2 separate regions of the Homo sapiens genome follow, and region 1 is linked to region 2. The links are contacts of gene promoters, found by promoter capture Hi-C in blood cells and fetal thymus (Javierre and others, 2016). All regions are on one chromosome and are shown on one strand. Each heading gives the region's core, a stretch centred on a gene start or on the middle of the fragment in contact. The rest is flanking DNA. Distances are from core to core; before and after follow the strand shown. Region 1 overlaps CLEC16A (C-type lectin domain containing 16A). Region 2 holds the start of PRM2 (protamine 2).

The links. The method cuts DNA at HindIII sites, captures the fragments that hold promoters and counts their contacts. A CHiCAGO score of 5 or more calls a contact.
Region 1: a fragment that was not itself captured here is called in contact with the fragment with the promoter of PRM2 in region 2 in 1 of 17 cell types (activated CD4 T cells); the score reaches 5.2 in activated CD4 T cells.

What each region holds. Positions count from the first base shown.
Region 1 is chr16:11,149,157-11,155,411 of GRCh38, reverse strand. All of the region lies in intron 22 of CLEC16A (C-type lectin domain containing 16A), which reads right to left. Among named protein-coding and RNA genes, the nearest start is that of SOCS1, 100 kb to the left of the region's middle. The HindIII fragment of the contact is 5,148 bases long and covers 1-4,992 here.
Region 2 is chr16:11,274,446-11,280,409 of GRCh38, reverse strand. It overlaps PRM2 (protamine 2), which reads left to right and starts at 3,930. Exons shown (of 2, transcript NM_002762.4): 1 at 3,930-4,310; 2 at 4,473-4,771. The coding sequence starts at 4,040. The coding sequence ends at 4,510. All of the region lies in intron 1 of LOC105371082 (a long non-coding RNA gene), which reads right to left. The HindIII fragment of the contact is 881 bases long and covers 3,633-4,513 here.

The sequences.
Region 1 (6,255 bases), core at 1,169-3,668, 120 kb after region 2:
CACTTTTACTCTGGCTACAGGATACGGTGGTGAGGAGAGTGCCGTGGCTCTGGGCATGTGACAGCAGGGGACCTGTTCACCCCACGAGCCTGTGTCCTCTAAAGCACTGTTGTCACTCTAAAGCAGAGTGACACCACCACACCTTACAGGGTTCGTGAGGATGAAAGCATTAACGCAATCTAAATGTTCAGGTAGCACTCGCTGTTTTGATTCCTCGGCTGGAATTTACGGTGCCTGGAACTTGGGCCCAATGAGGCAATAACTGGGATTTTCTTCTCTTTTTTTGGAGACAGGGTCTCACTCTGTCACCAAGCCTGGAGTGCAGTGGCATGATCCCGGCTCACTGCAGCCTCTTGACCTCGCCAGGCTCAGCTGATCCTCCCACCTCAGCCTCCCGTGTAGCTGGGACTACAGGTGCACACCACCACACCTGGGTAATTTTTCTGTTTTTTGTAGTGGTGGGTTTTATTTATTTATTTATTTTTGAGATGGAGTCCCGCTCTGTTGCCCAGACTGGAGTGCAATGGCACGATCTCAGCTCACTACAACCTCCGACTCCCAGGTTCAAGTGATTCTCTTACCTCAGCCTCCCAAGTAGCTGGGATTATAGGCAACTGCCACCACACCTGTCTAATTTTTTTGTATTTTTAGTAGAAATGGGGTTTCACCATGTTGGTCAGGCTGGTCTCGAACTCCTGACCTCAGGTGATCCGCCCACCTCAGCCTCCCAAAGTGCTGGGATTACAGATGTGAGCCCCCACGCCTGTCCTGGGACTTTCATTTTCGTAAGTGTCTTTAGACAAAGGGGTATGTAGCAAAAGAAATGGCCCAGCTCTTTGGAGAAAAGAACGCAACACAAAACAAAAGTCTTCCTCACATTAGCTGTTATGACTGAAGATTTTAGGAGTTAACAAAGTGAGACATGAGAGAGCCTTTCTAAAGGAACTTTAAATATCTAGGTTTAAAGGATTTATATGAAAATCGTTTACGAGAAAAATGAAGTTATTTTCATCTAGATTCTTAAAAACCTCATGTTACACTGCATTCAAGACACATGACTATTCTATTTGCATTTCTTTGATAGAGAGTTGAATGGATGAGCTTGAACCATATGCAACTGCCAATATTCAACTAACTTGACCTACAGAAACAGCCATTTCATATGGTTCAATCTACTCTAAGTCCATCCCTCTTAAAGATCCCTACCAGAATAATTCATGGAGGATGGGGACGGAGGGAACAGCCAGCAGTGTATTCAAACAAATAAATGGCTTTCCCCAATTCTCCATTTCTCTTTGCCCTGTCTGCGCATGTGTGTGCAGGAGTGTGCGTGTGTACACACCTGTGTGTGTTCCTCTCTCCAGCTACATTCATCCTTTCATTTCCAAAATCGGTAGCTTCAACAAAATGCTTAGAAATAAGGTTGGCACTTATGGGGAGGTGTGTGTCTTCTTGACAGATGACCCACAAAAAGGGGACTTATTAGGAACCAGAAGGGCTTCTCAAATGGGCTAGGTTGCTCTCTTTTCCCTTTGTTCCTCCTCACAAATGCTGAGCTAATGTGTCCAACATTAAAAATCACCCTAGCTATTATGCATTTGTAGTTTTGACTTATTTTTTTAGTATTATTAATATTTCATCATAAAAGTATTGATTTCCTTTAACTAAGAGACTTTAAAGTTTACTGTATTCTTAAGCATGATTTTATTATGTCTTGGGGTCAGATGTTTTTCCCTCCCCCAGAAGGAATGCTTTTCCTTTTCTATAATGTGCGTCAAGAAGAAAGGAGGAATTGATTCACAGAATTCTGCATTACAGGCAACTTTTAAGGAACGTATCTAGTATGTATACTTAGAGTGACGTTTCTTAAACACAACTGTACGTTTCATTGTTTAGCCTTTTTAATCTGTTAGAGGTAAGAACCAAAGCACAACATTTATGTTAAAATATGAGACAGTTTCAAAGAAGCAAATCTGGGAAAATTAAGACAACTCTGGACATGACCCTAAAGCTGTCAACTCCTCACAAGTGCTCCAGGGGTCATAAAAACCTTAGTTTCTATGTTGTCATCCTCTTCCTTCAAGAAAGGCAACAGAAAACGAGAAGGAGTCCTGCTGGCACGGGGACTACCTAGAAAAGGCACCATTTCCCTTTCTATGTAAATCGCTGGTGTCAGATGCCAATTGCACAGTTGGGGAAGGAAGGCTCCGTTTTACAGAACCCATCCAGGAAGCAGGCGGAGGGCAGTAACTGGCAAACAAACACAGCGCTCTGAAATGTTTAAATATTGAACATCCTTTCTCCTTCCTCTACATTTATTATTAACTTGGGCCCACATCACTATGTGCATTGACTTCATTTCTTCCCAAGAACCCAAGACACAATGGACAATGCTCAGAGGCTGCGGGGTCGGGGTGGAGTGGAGATTTGGGTTTCTTTCTTCATACCCTCGCTGGAGATCCTTTCCAGTCAGCCCCACGGTTTTAGAGCCATGAATTCCTGGAAGCGTCTCAGCCTTTCAATGACCCCTGGCGCCCGAACGCAGATGATTAGTGCCCCAAATATTGACAGACTGGACTTTCTTCCCCTTTGACACAGGGGAGCAGTGTCAGAGGGAGGCTGGAGGAAAGATGCCGTCACCACCTGACTGGCGAGATTGTGGGAACGTCATTAGGACAGGTGCTCTATTATTTGGGACCACAGTGGTGCCCTTAGCTTTGACCAGGTAGAAACAATGCTCAGGATGCTGTGTGAATGCTACAGGGGACCTGGTTAAAAACAAACAAAACAACCCTATCTACAGACACCAGTAACTGATGTCTTTTGCTCAGCTTCTAGACAACAGAGGGGATTGGCACTGGCCCTGCTCTGACAGGTGCAACCCACCAGATGTCAATGTCCTGGACCAGCAGCTGAGCAAACACAGAGCTTGGGCCCCCCGTCATTCCTCATGAAGATGAACATTTGGGATCAGAAATAGAAACCCCAAATCTCTCCAGAAAACAAGGCAGCACCTTTTCCTGGGAACAGATAAGGGTAGCAGGAGGACCATCTGTCAGACCCATGCAGACACCAGCCGCCCGCCTGCAGAGGGAAGATCTTGTGGGTGTGCTAGCAGCATGAGCTGGTTATGAGCACTCGTTTTTCCTGGGCTTTTAGCTGTTCAAGTGAAATTGTCCCAGATGACCGGCCTAAGGCTTCCACTTTCTTTTAAAAGACAGCACTACATTTGAGATCGATGTTTTCCCCTGAAATGCAGGCTAAATTTATCCTTCCGCGCATCTTGCTCTCTGGTCTCTGTGCTAAGCTGGCCCTTGCTGTGCTGAGTTAGGCATCTGCTGTTCAATGCTGGTTCCTAGCCGGCAGTACTCAAGCACCTAGTTCTATCCTTTTGCTCATCACACACACAAAACCCCCTGGTTCTCTGAGAGATTCCTTTGCTGCCTCATTCTCTGTAGTTCCGTTAATTAAGCTCTCACTTCCCGGGTTCCTCACCCGTCTCCAGCTCTCAGAACTACCCTAAAAAGCTATCAAAAGTTGGCTCCATTTGAAAGGCTCCAGAGAGCCCCTTCCCCAGCCGGCCCCCGCCCCCCGAAAGTGGCTGAGTACTCATTACTTGATTGCCTTTTGCAACAGTGAGCTGGTGCAGGCTGCCATGAGCTTAACGGACTGAACTAAATCAGAGAAGTCGCTACTCTCTCCTGGGCTCCCTTGGCAAGCTGCCCTGTGAGTGAAATTGCACTGATTGATTTAATGCCTGAGGCCCAGAGGGCCCAGTATTTCTGAAATCTCTATTCATCTATACAGATGCAAGAGTACATGCCCCAAACAGACATTTTGAGCTACGGTTTCTACTTTGCTATTAACCCATAGACTCTCTCTCTTTTTGGCAGGAATGAGAAATAAAAAAGTGACTTGATAGAAACAATGCCTGTGCACATGCTGGCAGAGGCGCACACATATGTGCAGAGGACTTCAGCCTGGAGCACTGGGCAGGAGTCATCTGAGAGCCCAGGTGAATGAAGACAAGGGCCCAGGTGTGACCAGGTGGGCATCCCCCTACTCTGCTTTCTGGAAGGCAATTTGGCAAGGTGCCACCCAGAGCCTGACAAATGGACAGTCCCCCTGACTCTAAGGAATGGTTTCTGGAGGAATAATTGGAAATGTAGACCAAGATTTCTGAATAAGGATGTTTGTCATAGGGTGCTTCATAAGGTAGTAGAAACAACGTAAGTGGCCAGTATAAGCGGATTAAGTAAAATCTGGCAAATTCAGACTGTTTTGTGTTTCACTGTGTCCCCTTCAAATTCTTAGGTTGAAGTCCTAACCTCTAGTACCTCAGACTCAGAATGTGACCTCGTTTGGAAATGGGGTCATTTTACAGATGCAATTAGTTAAAATGAGGTCATTAGGTTTGGTCCTAATCCAATATGTCTGTGCCTCCTAAAAAATGAAAATTTGGACGCAGATTTTCACACAGGTAGAACATCACGTGAAGATGAAGGCAAGACTGGGGTGATACTTCTATGAGCCAAAAAGTAGCAAAGATTGCCAGCAAAACACCAGAAGCCAAGGAGGGAGGCCTGGACCAGAGTCCTCCTCACACCCCTCAGAGGAAACCAGCCCTGCCAATACCTTGATTTTGCACTTCTACCCTCCAGACCTGTGAGACAATCAATTTCTGCTGTTTATGCCACCCAGTTTGTGGGACTTTGTTATGGCCACCTCAGGAAACTAACACTCAGACAATGGACTATTATGCAGTCATCAAGAATGAAGTTTAGAAGAGGCATTTTACAGTACAGGGAAGTGCTTCTGACATGATGGCAATGTTGTGAAAACAAAACCTTGTGACTTGGCAGTTCTGCTTCTTGTACTGCACGTGCACACAGAGAGAGGTGTGCCCAAGGATGCCCACTGCAACGCTGCCCGGGATAGAAAAAGACTAGGATGACTGAATCACTCAGCCAAAGAAACGCAAGTAGCCAAGCTTTGGAATACTATGCAGCCGTGAAAAGGAATGTGTGAAATCTGTAAGTGCTAACACAGATTCCTGATTTACAGTGGTGTCTGAAAAGAGCAAGGTGCAGCAGGGTATACAGAATTATGATTTTATTTAAGGGAAGCCCAAACCTTAACACAATTACAGATCCATACTTAACTCCTTATCCTAAACCTCTGTGGCCAGATATGTCTTGGAATTTAGAATCTTTAGGAGGTAAAAGGCCATGTAGGGCACACATAGGTATTACGTTACACTGTCAGCTGGGTCGTGAGCAGCTAAAACCAAACACTGAATTTTTGCAGAAACGAAAACATAAACTCACAATTACTGGCATCAATGACTCTAATAAACCCGCCCATAAATACCTGAAGGCAGGTTTTGGTTTTGCCATCATACGAGTTAGGAAAAATATTTTGATTTTCAGAGCTGTTTGGGTTTCAGAATTGCAGAGAAGGGGTGGTGGCTCTGTTCTGTTCATCAGCTCTGGCACATGTATGAAATGCAACTGCACAGAGAAGGGTCTGGAAAAATAAAAATAAGGCAAATGATGACTGAGGAAGGGTGGTAACTGATGGGGTCTTAAGTCGCACCTGCAATGTTGCAATTTTTTTTTTTTTTTTAAGACAGTCTCACTTTGTCACCCAGGCTGGAGTGAACTGGTGTGATCTTGGCTCACTGCAACCTCTGCCTCCCAGGTTCAAGCCATTCTCATGTCTCAGCTTCCCAAGTAGCTGGGATTACCGGTGGGCACCATCATGCCCAGCTATTTATATTTTTAGTGGAGATGGGGTTTTGCCATGTTGCTCAGGCTGGTCTTGAACTCTTGAGCTCAGGCAATCTGCCTGCCTCAGCCTCCCAAAGTGTTGAGATTACAGGCATGAGCCACTGTGCCCAGCCTGATTTTTTCAAAAATCAACAATCAACTCATGTATTTTTTTTTTTAAATGAGAGAAAGAGACAAAACAGGGAAGACAGAAGTGGAAAATAAACAGAAATATTAACAATGCTTTCTTCTGGGTTGATAGGATTGTGATTTCTTCTTCCTGTAGCTTCTCAGTTTTCATTTATAATATTCTACGTTCATGTATTAATGCACAAAAATTAATACAACGGGTCTGCAGTAATAGCAAAACAGCTGACCGGTTCCATCCATTCCTGTTATCAGCTCATCCCCAGGGCCTCAGTGACCCCATGGGGTCAAGTCCCGCTGCCTGCCTGACTCACCACCACTGGTGACTTGTGCTCCGACA
Region 2 (5,964 bases), core at 2,681-5,180:
ATGAGCCACTGCACCTGGCCATTGTTCCAAACTCTTAGTAGTACCAACAAGTCACAACCCAAACCTGCCTCCCTAAGATACAACAAGAACCAGTCTCCCCAAGTCACAACCAGAACCTGCCTCCTAAACCCTCTTAACAGATCCCTACCCAGTGGGGTGCTCTATCCAGGTCTCTCGAGTTTGAGGACCCACTGTGTACATTTCCCCACTCTGCTTGGTGACCTCATCTTGGCAGCTTGAAATGGACCATGGAGTATTTACAGAAATCAGCAAATGCTACAAATCTGGGTTCCCTCCATCCCAGGAACCCCAAAGCCAGTTAAACATTTACCAGCTGGAGCTCAAGATTGAACCAGCTCATCCCATCTGACCTGTCCCCTAGCTGCCCACCCGGGTTTATTTCAGCCCAAAGCTGAAATTTCCACTCTTCAACAAAGGAACTCTTAGGTTATAACTTAAATAGATTAAGCCAGTCACCATCAGGAAAATTAAATTCAAAACTGCTTATTCCTCACTCTGTGCCAGAAGTTTTCATCCCCATTTGGGTACAGAGATAACTTGTCCAGGTAGCAGTGGAGCTGAACTTTTCACATTTAATCAAGCACCATTAAGGAAGTCTCTTATCTGCCATCCTGTAAACTCAAACATTTTTGTTAACCACCGGTTTCTTTACTCTTTGGGGCACGGTTTCACAACGTTATGTCCACCGAAGAAACAAAGGTTAACTTGTCCATCTGGTCGGATCTAAGTCCACACTCAAGCTGCTTGATATACCACCTATACTAAAATTTCTAAGGCAAGAGTTTAAGACCCCAGTGAGATCTGGGGAAGGACATAAGAAGTCCTGCTGGGCACTGGTCTCCTTGGCTCACCCACAGCCTAAGAAAGCCCACCTCTCCGATTCCTTGACACAGGCCCTGGGTCACAGTCATTTCCTGATGGTAGAGCAAACCCAGAGCATTTTGGCAGAGACCAGAGGCTCTGAGACCCAGTTCCCTGAAGTGACAGGGCCCACCAAGCACCTCAGAAATGTCACAGTATGACTTCTGTTTATGGGACACCAACTGTGTGCCTGGTATTCTGCATACATCACTTCCTTTTTTTTTTTTTTTTGAGACAAGGTCTCTTTCTGTCACCCAGGCTAGAATAGAGTGCAGTAGCGCAAACACAGTTCACTGCAGCCTCAATCTCCTGAGCTCAAGTGATTTCCTTACCTCAGCCTCCTGGACTCCTGAGTAGCTGGGACCACAGACATGCACCACCTTGCCTGGCTAATTTTTCTAATTTTTTTGTAGAGACGAGGTCTCACTATGTTGCCCAGGCTGGTCTCAAACTCCTGGGCTCAAGCGATTCTCCTGCCTTGGCCTCCCAGAGTGCTGTGATTACAGGCATGAGCCACTGCACTCACCTACGGTGGGTATCAACAACCATGTTCTTTCAAGTGAGCACATGAGAGTTCAGTGCTAGCCCTGGCACTACCATGACCCTGATCACTTTAGCAATGACTCCCCATAACACACTCGGATCATGATAGCAGCTTGGCTGGACAGGCAGACCCCTGGGTGTGCCTTTTTTTTTTTTTTTTTTGAGATAAGGGTCTTGCTCTGTCACCCAGGCTGGAGTGCAGTGGTGTGAACGTGGCTCACTGCAGCCTTGATCTGTGCTCAAGCAATCCTCCCATCTCAGCCTCCTGAGTAGCAGGAACTACAGGCACATGCCACCATGGACCCAGGCTATTTTTTTTATTTTTTGTAGACAGAGCCCTCACTATGTTGCCCAGGGTGGTCTCAAACTCCTGGGCTCAAGTGATCTTCCCACCTCGGCCTCTCAAAGTGCTGGGATTACAGGTGTGAGCCACCACACCCAGCCCCTTCCTATGTTTATTTTATTTTATTTTATTTTTTTAGACGAAGTTTCGCCCTTGTTGCCGAGGCTGGAGCGCAATGGTGCCATCTCAGCTCACTGCAACCTCTGCCTCCTGGGTTCAAGCAATTCTCCTGCCTCAGCCTCCTGAGTAGCTGGGATTACAGGCGCCCGCCACCACTCCCGGCTAATTTTTGTATATTTAGTAGAGACAGGGTTTCACCATGTTGACTAGGCTGGTCTTGAACTTCTGACCTCAGGTGATCCACCCGCCTCAGCCTCCCAAAGTGCTACGATTACAGGTGTGAGCCACCGAGCCCTGCCCCGCCCCTTCTTATTTTCATCTGCAAGCTTTGGCCATGGAGATTTGACTTAGCGGGACGTAGGGTAAGGCCTCAGCATTCATATTTTTAACACGCGCCCTCGAAGAGCTTGAGGGCCATCATAAAGGACCTTCTTATCCCTAAAGAGAGGCAGCATAGAAACACCAAGGGCATGGCAATATCACCCATCACCTCCTGTAAGGATCTGAAGATTAAGCCTCCTGAATTTGTTTCTTATTGCCACTGTGACAGATCATCACAAATTTTGTAGCTTTAAACAACATAAATGCATTATCTTACAGGTCTGCAGGTCAGAATTCTGAAAGAAGTCTCATGGGGCTAAAATCAAGGGGTCAGCAGGGCTGTGTTCCTCCTGGATGCACGAGGGGAGGATAACCCATTTCCTTGTCCATCCCAGCTTCTAGAGGCCGCCTGCATCCCTTGGCTTATAGCCTCTCCCTCCATCTTCAAAGCCAGCAGTGTGGTGTCTCCCAGTTTCTCTTCCTGTGACCCTCCTGCCTCCCTATTCTCTCTTCTAAGGACCCTCGTGACTGCACTGGGCCAACCCAGATCATCTGGGATGATCTCTGCATCTTCAAGTCCTTAAATTTGTGTATCTGCCACATTCCCACATTCTCCCTGCCCTCCATGAAAGGGAAACTGGTTTTGCAGTTTCTGTGATTCTGATCCCGGACTTTAATGGGATCATCAAAGTTCAATGAGAAGCCCCGGCAAGGCCGAGCGGGAGGGGAGAAGATGAATATTTTGGAGGCGGAGAGGGGAGCATTCCCTGGGCTAGGGAGGAGGTGGAGAGCCAAGGGTATGACTAAAACCAGGCTGTCTCCGTCTGAATGCTGGCCCGGCCTGGCCTTCTCAGCAGAGTGGCCTTGAGCAACTCAACTTCTTCATGCCTGTTTGCCCCACAGAAAATGAGGATTGTAAGAGTGAGGAATGCAAGGGTGGTGGCTCACACCTGTAATCCCAGCACTCTGGGAGGCCGACATGGGAGGCTCACTGAGGCCAGGAGTGTGAGACCAGCCAGGGCAACATGGTGAAACCCTATCTATCTCCACAAAAAATACAAAAAATTAGCTGGGAGTGGCAGCACACGCCTATAGTCCCAGCTACTCGGGAGGCTGAGGTGGCAGGATCATCTGAGCTGGAGGGGTAGAGGCTGCTATGATCCATGATTGCACAACTGCACTCCAGCCTGGGCGACAGACAGTGCCTCAAAACAAAAAGAGGAGAGAGAGAGAGAGAGAGAGAGAGAGAGAGAATGAGTGAATGTATGGGAAATAAATGAATCAATGCTTGGCACATAGGAGCTATTAGGGAACTGTTTGCTGCTGTTGCCATCTTAACAGTAAGCTGTGTGCACAGAGATCCAAGCACGGAAGTCCCTTCCACATGGTGGCTGTGGCACAGCAGTGAGTTGGCAAGGAAGCTTCCAAATGACAATGTGCGCACCCACCGGCTTGGGGAGATGAGGGCTTGGATTAGGCAATAAAACACCTGCCATCTGTATGGTTCACCTACTGCAAGAGACAGAGGACATGCTTTACAGGCAAGGCAAGGGGGTCTCTCGCCCTTCCAGCCCTGCAGCTTGGGTGCCAGGGCCCTGCTAGTTGTGACCCCTGGCCCTGTGCTGCCCTCACAGAGGAGGCTGGGCAGGGTGGGGACTGGGCGGGGCCGCAGAGTCATAGTGGGCGCCCCCTTTATATACAAGCTCCCGGGGAGCCTTGCAGACCAGACCAACAGTAACACCAAGGGCAGGTGGGCAGGCCTCCGCCCTCCTCCCCTACTCCAGGGCCCACTGCAGCCTCAGCCCAGGAGCCACCAGATCTCCCAACACCATGGTCCGATACCGCGTGAGGAGCCTGAGCGAACGCTCGCACGAGGTGTACAGGCAGCAGTTGCATGGGCAAGAGCAAGGACACCACGGCCAAGAGGAGCAAGGGCTGAGCCCGGAGCACGTCGAGGTCTACGAGAGGACCCATGGCCAGTCTCACTATAGGCGCAGACACTGCTCTCGAAGGAGGCTGCACCGGATCCACAGGCGGCAGCATCGCTCCTGCAGAAGGCGCAAAAGACGCTCCTGCAGGCACCGGAGGAGGCATCGCAGAGGTCTGCCTGCGCCCCCGCCTTGCCCTGCATGTCCCTGACCACCCCAGGCACAGGAGGGAGGCGGGGACCCACCCCACCTGACAAAAGCTCCAGCCCCCTAACCCCCGTCCCCACCCAGAGTCCCTAGGTGACCCCCTCAACCAGAACTTTCTTTCCCAAAAGGCTGCAGAACCAGGAAGAGAACATGCAGAAGGCACTAAGCTTCCTGGGCCCCTCACCCCCAGCTGGAAATTAAGAAAAAGTCGCCCGAAACACCAAGTGAGGCCATAGCAATTCCCCTACATCAAATGCTCAAGCCCCCAGCTGGAAGTTAAGAGAAAGTCACCTGCCCAAGAAACACCGAGTGAGGCCATAGCAACTCCCCTACATCAAATGCTCAAGCCCTGAGTTGCCGCCGAGAAGCCCACAAGATCTGAGTGAAACGAGCAAAAGTCACCTGCCCAATAAAGCTTGACAAGACACTCGCTGGCCTGTCGGGTTTTCTTTGCACGAATCACACAAACCTGGCTTCCCTCACGCCCAGGGCGGGTAGAGGCTTCTCTGCAGCCCTTCCTCAGAGGCAGGTAGGGCGGGAGTTCTGATGCTCTCAGGACACCTAGGAGAGGGTTACTGTGCCTGGGAGGCCACCCTATGATGCTGTCCTGTCTATTGTGCATCCTTCCATGGTGTCAAAGGCCACATTAGTCTGTCTGGATCCCCCTCCAGTGAAGAACCTGATCCTACCTCATGAAAGGAGAAAATGGTTAGAACAGATCGAGTCCTAATTAAGTCACAAAGATGCCAAGGCACCTTGTGGCCATATTTAAATGCCTACTGTGTGCCACAGTTTAAAAACACAACCCATCTTGAGTGTTGGGTGGTTGGAAGTGTAAACGGTGGGGGCAGAGGTGGGGGCACTGCTCAGTGCAGGCCACAGCTTCGAGGTGGGAAACAGGTCTGGCATGCTCCAGCAACAACTTGGTCAGCACAGAGACGGCAAAAGGCAAGGAGTAGATGAATGCAGAGTAATGGGCTGCGCTGTGTGAGGCCTGTGCTGGCTGAAGCCTCTGGAGACCCAGGCAGAATCCGATCCTTGTTGCCTGCTCTCCTCGGCCTGTGGCTGCATCACTCCTCCCTCCTGTCTGAAATCAAGGACCCTTGTGATTGCACTGAGGGACTTTCTGGACAACCCAAGATAACCTCCCCATCTCACAATCCTTACATCATAGATTCCAGGATCAGGAAGGGGGCACTTCGGAGAGTGCCAACCTTAGCCAACCATAGCCACTGAGGACTGGGGGGATAAGACTGGCAAGATCCAATCCATATGTTGGCAAATGGATTTCTGGTGCTCAGAAATGACCAATCTTTAGGAAGCAACGAGTTTCTGAAAACAAAACAACAACAACAAAAAAAAAAACAGACGGAGTTTCGCTCTTGTCACTGGGGCGGTGTGCAGTGGTGCGATCTTGGCTCACTGCAACCTGCACCTCCTATGTTCAACTGATTCTCCTCCCTAACCTCCTGAGTAGCTGAAGGAGCTAAACAAATTTTTTTTTTTTTTTTTTTTTGGTATTTTTAGTAAAGACATGGTTTCACGATGTTGGCCAGGCTGGTCTCGAACTTCTGACCTCAGATGATCTGCCTGCCTCGCCTCCCAAAGTGCTGGGATTAC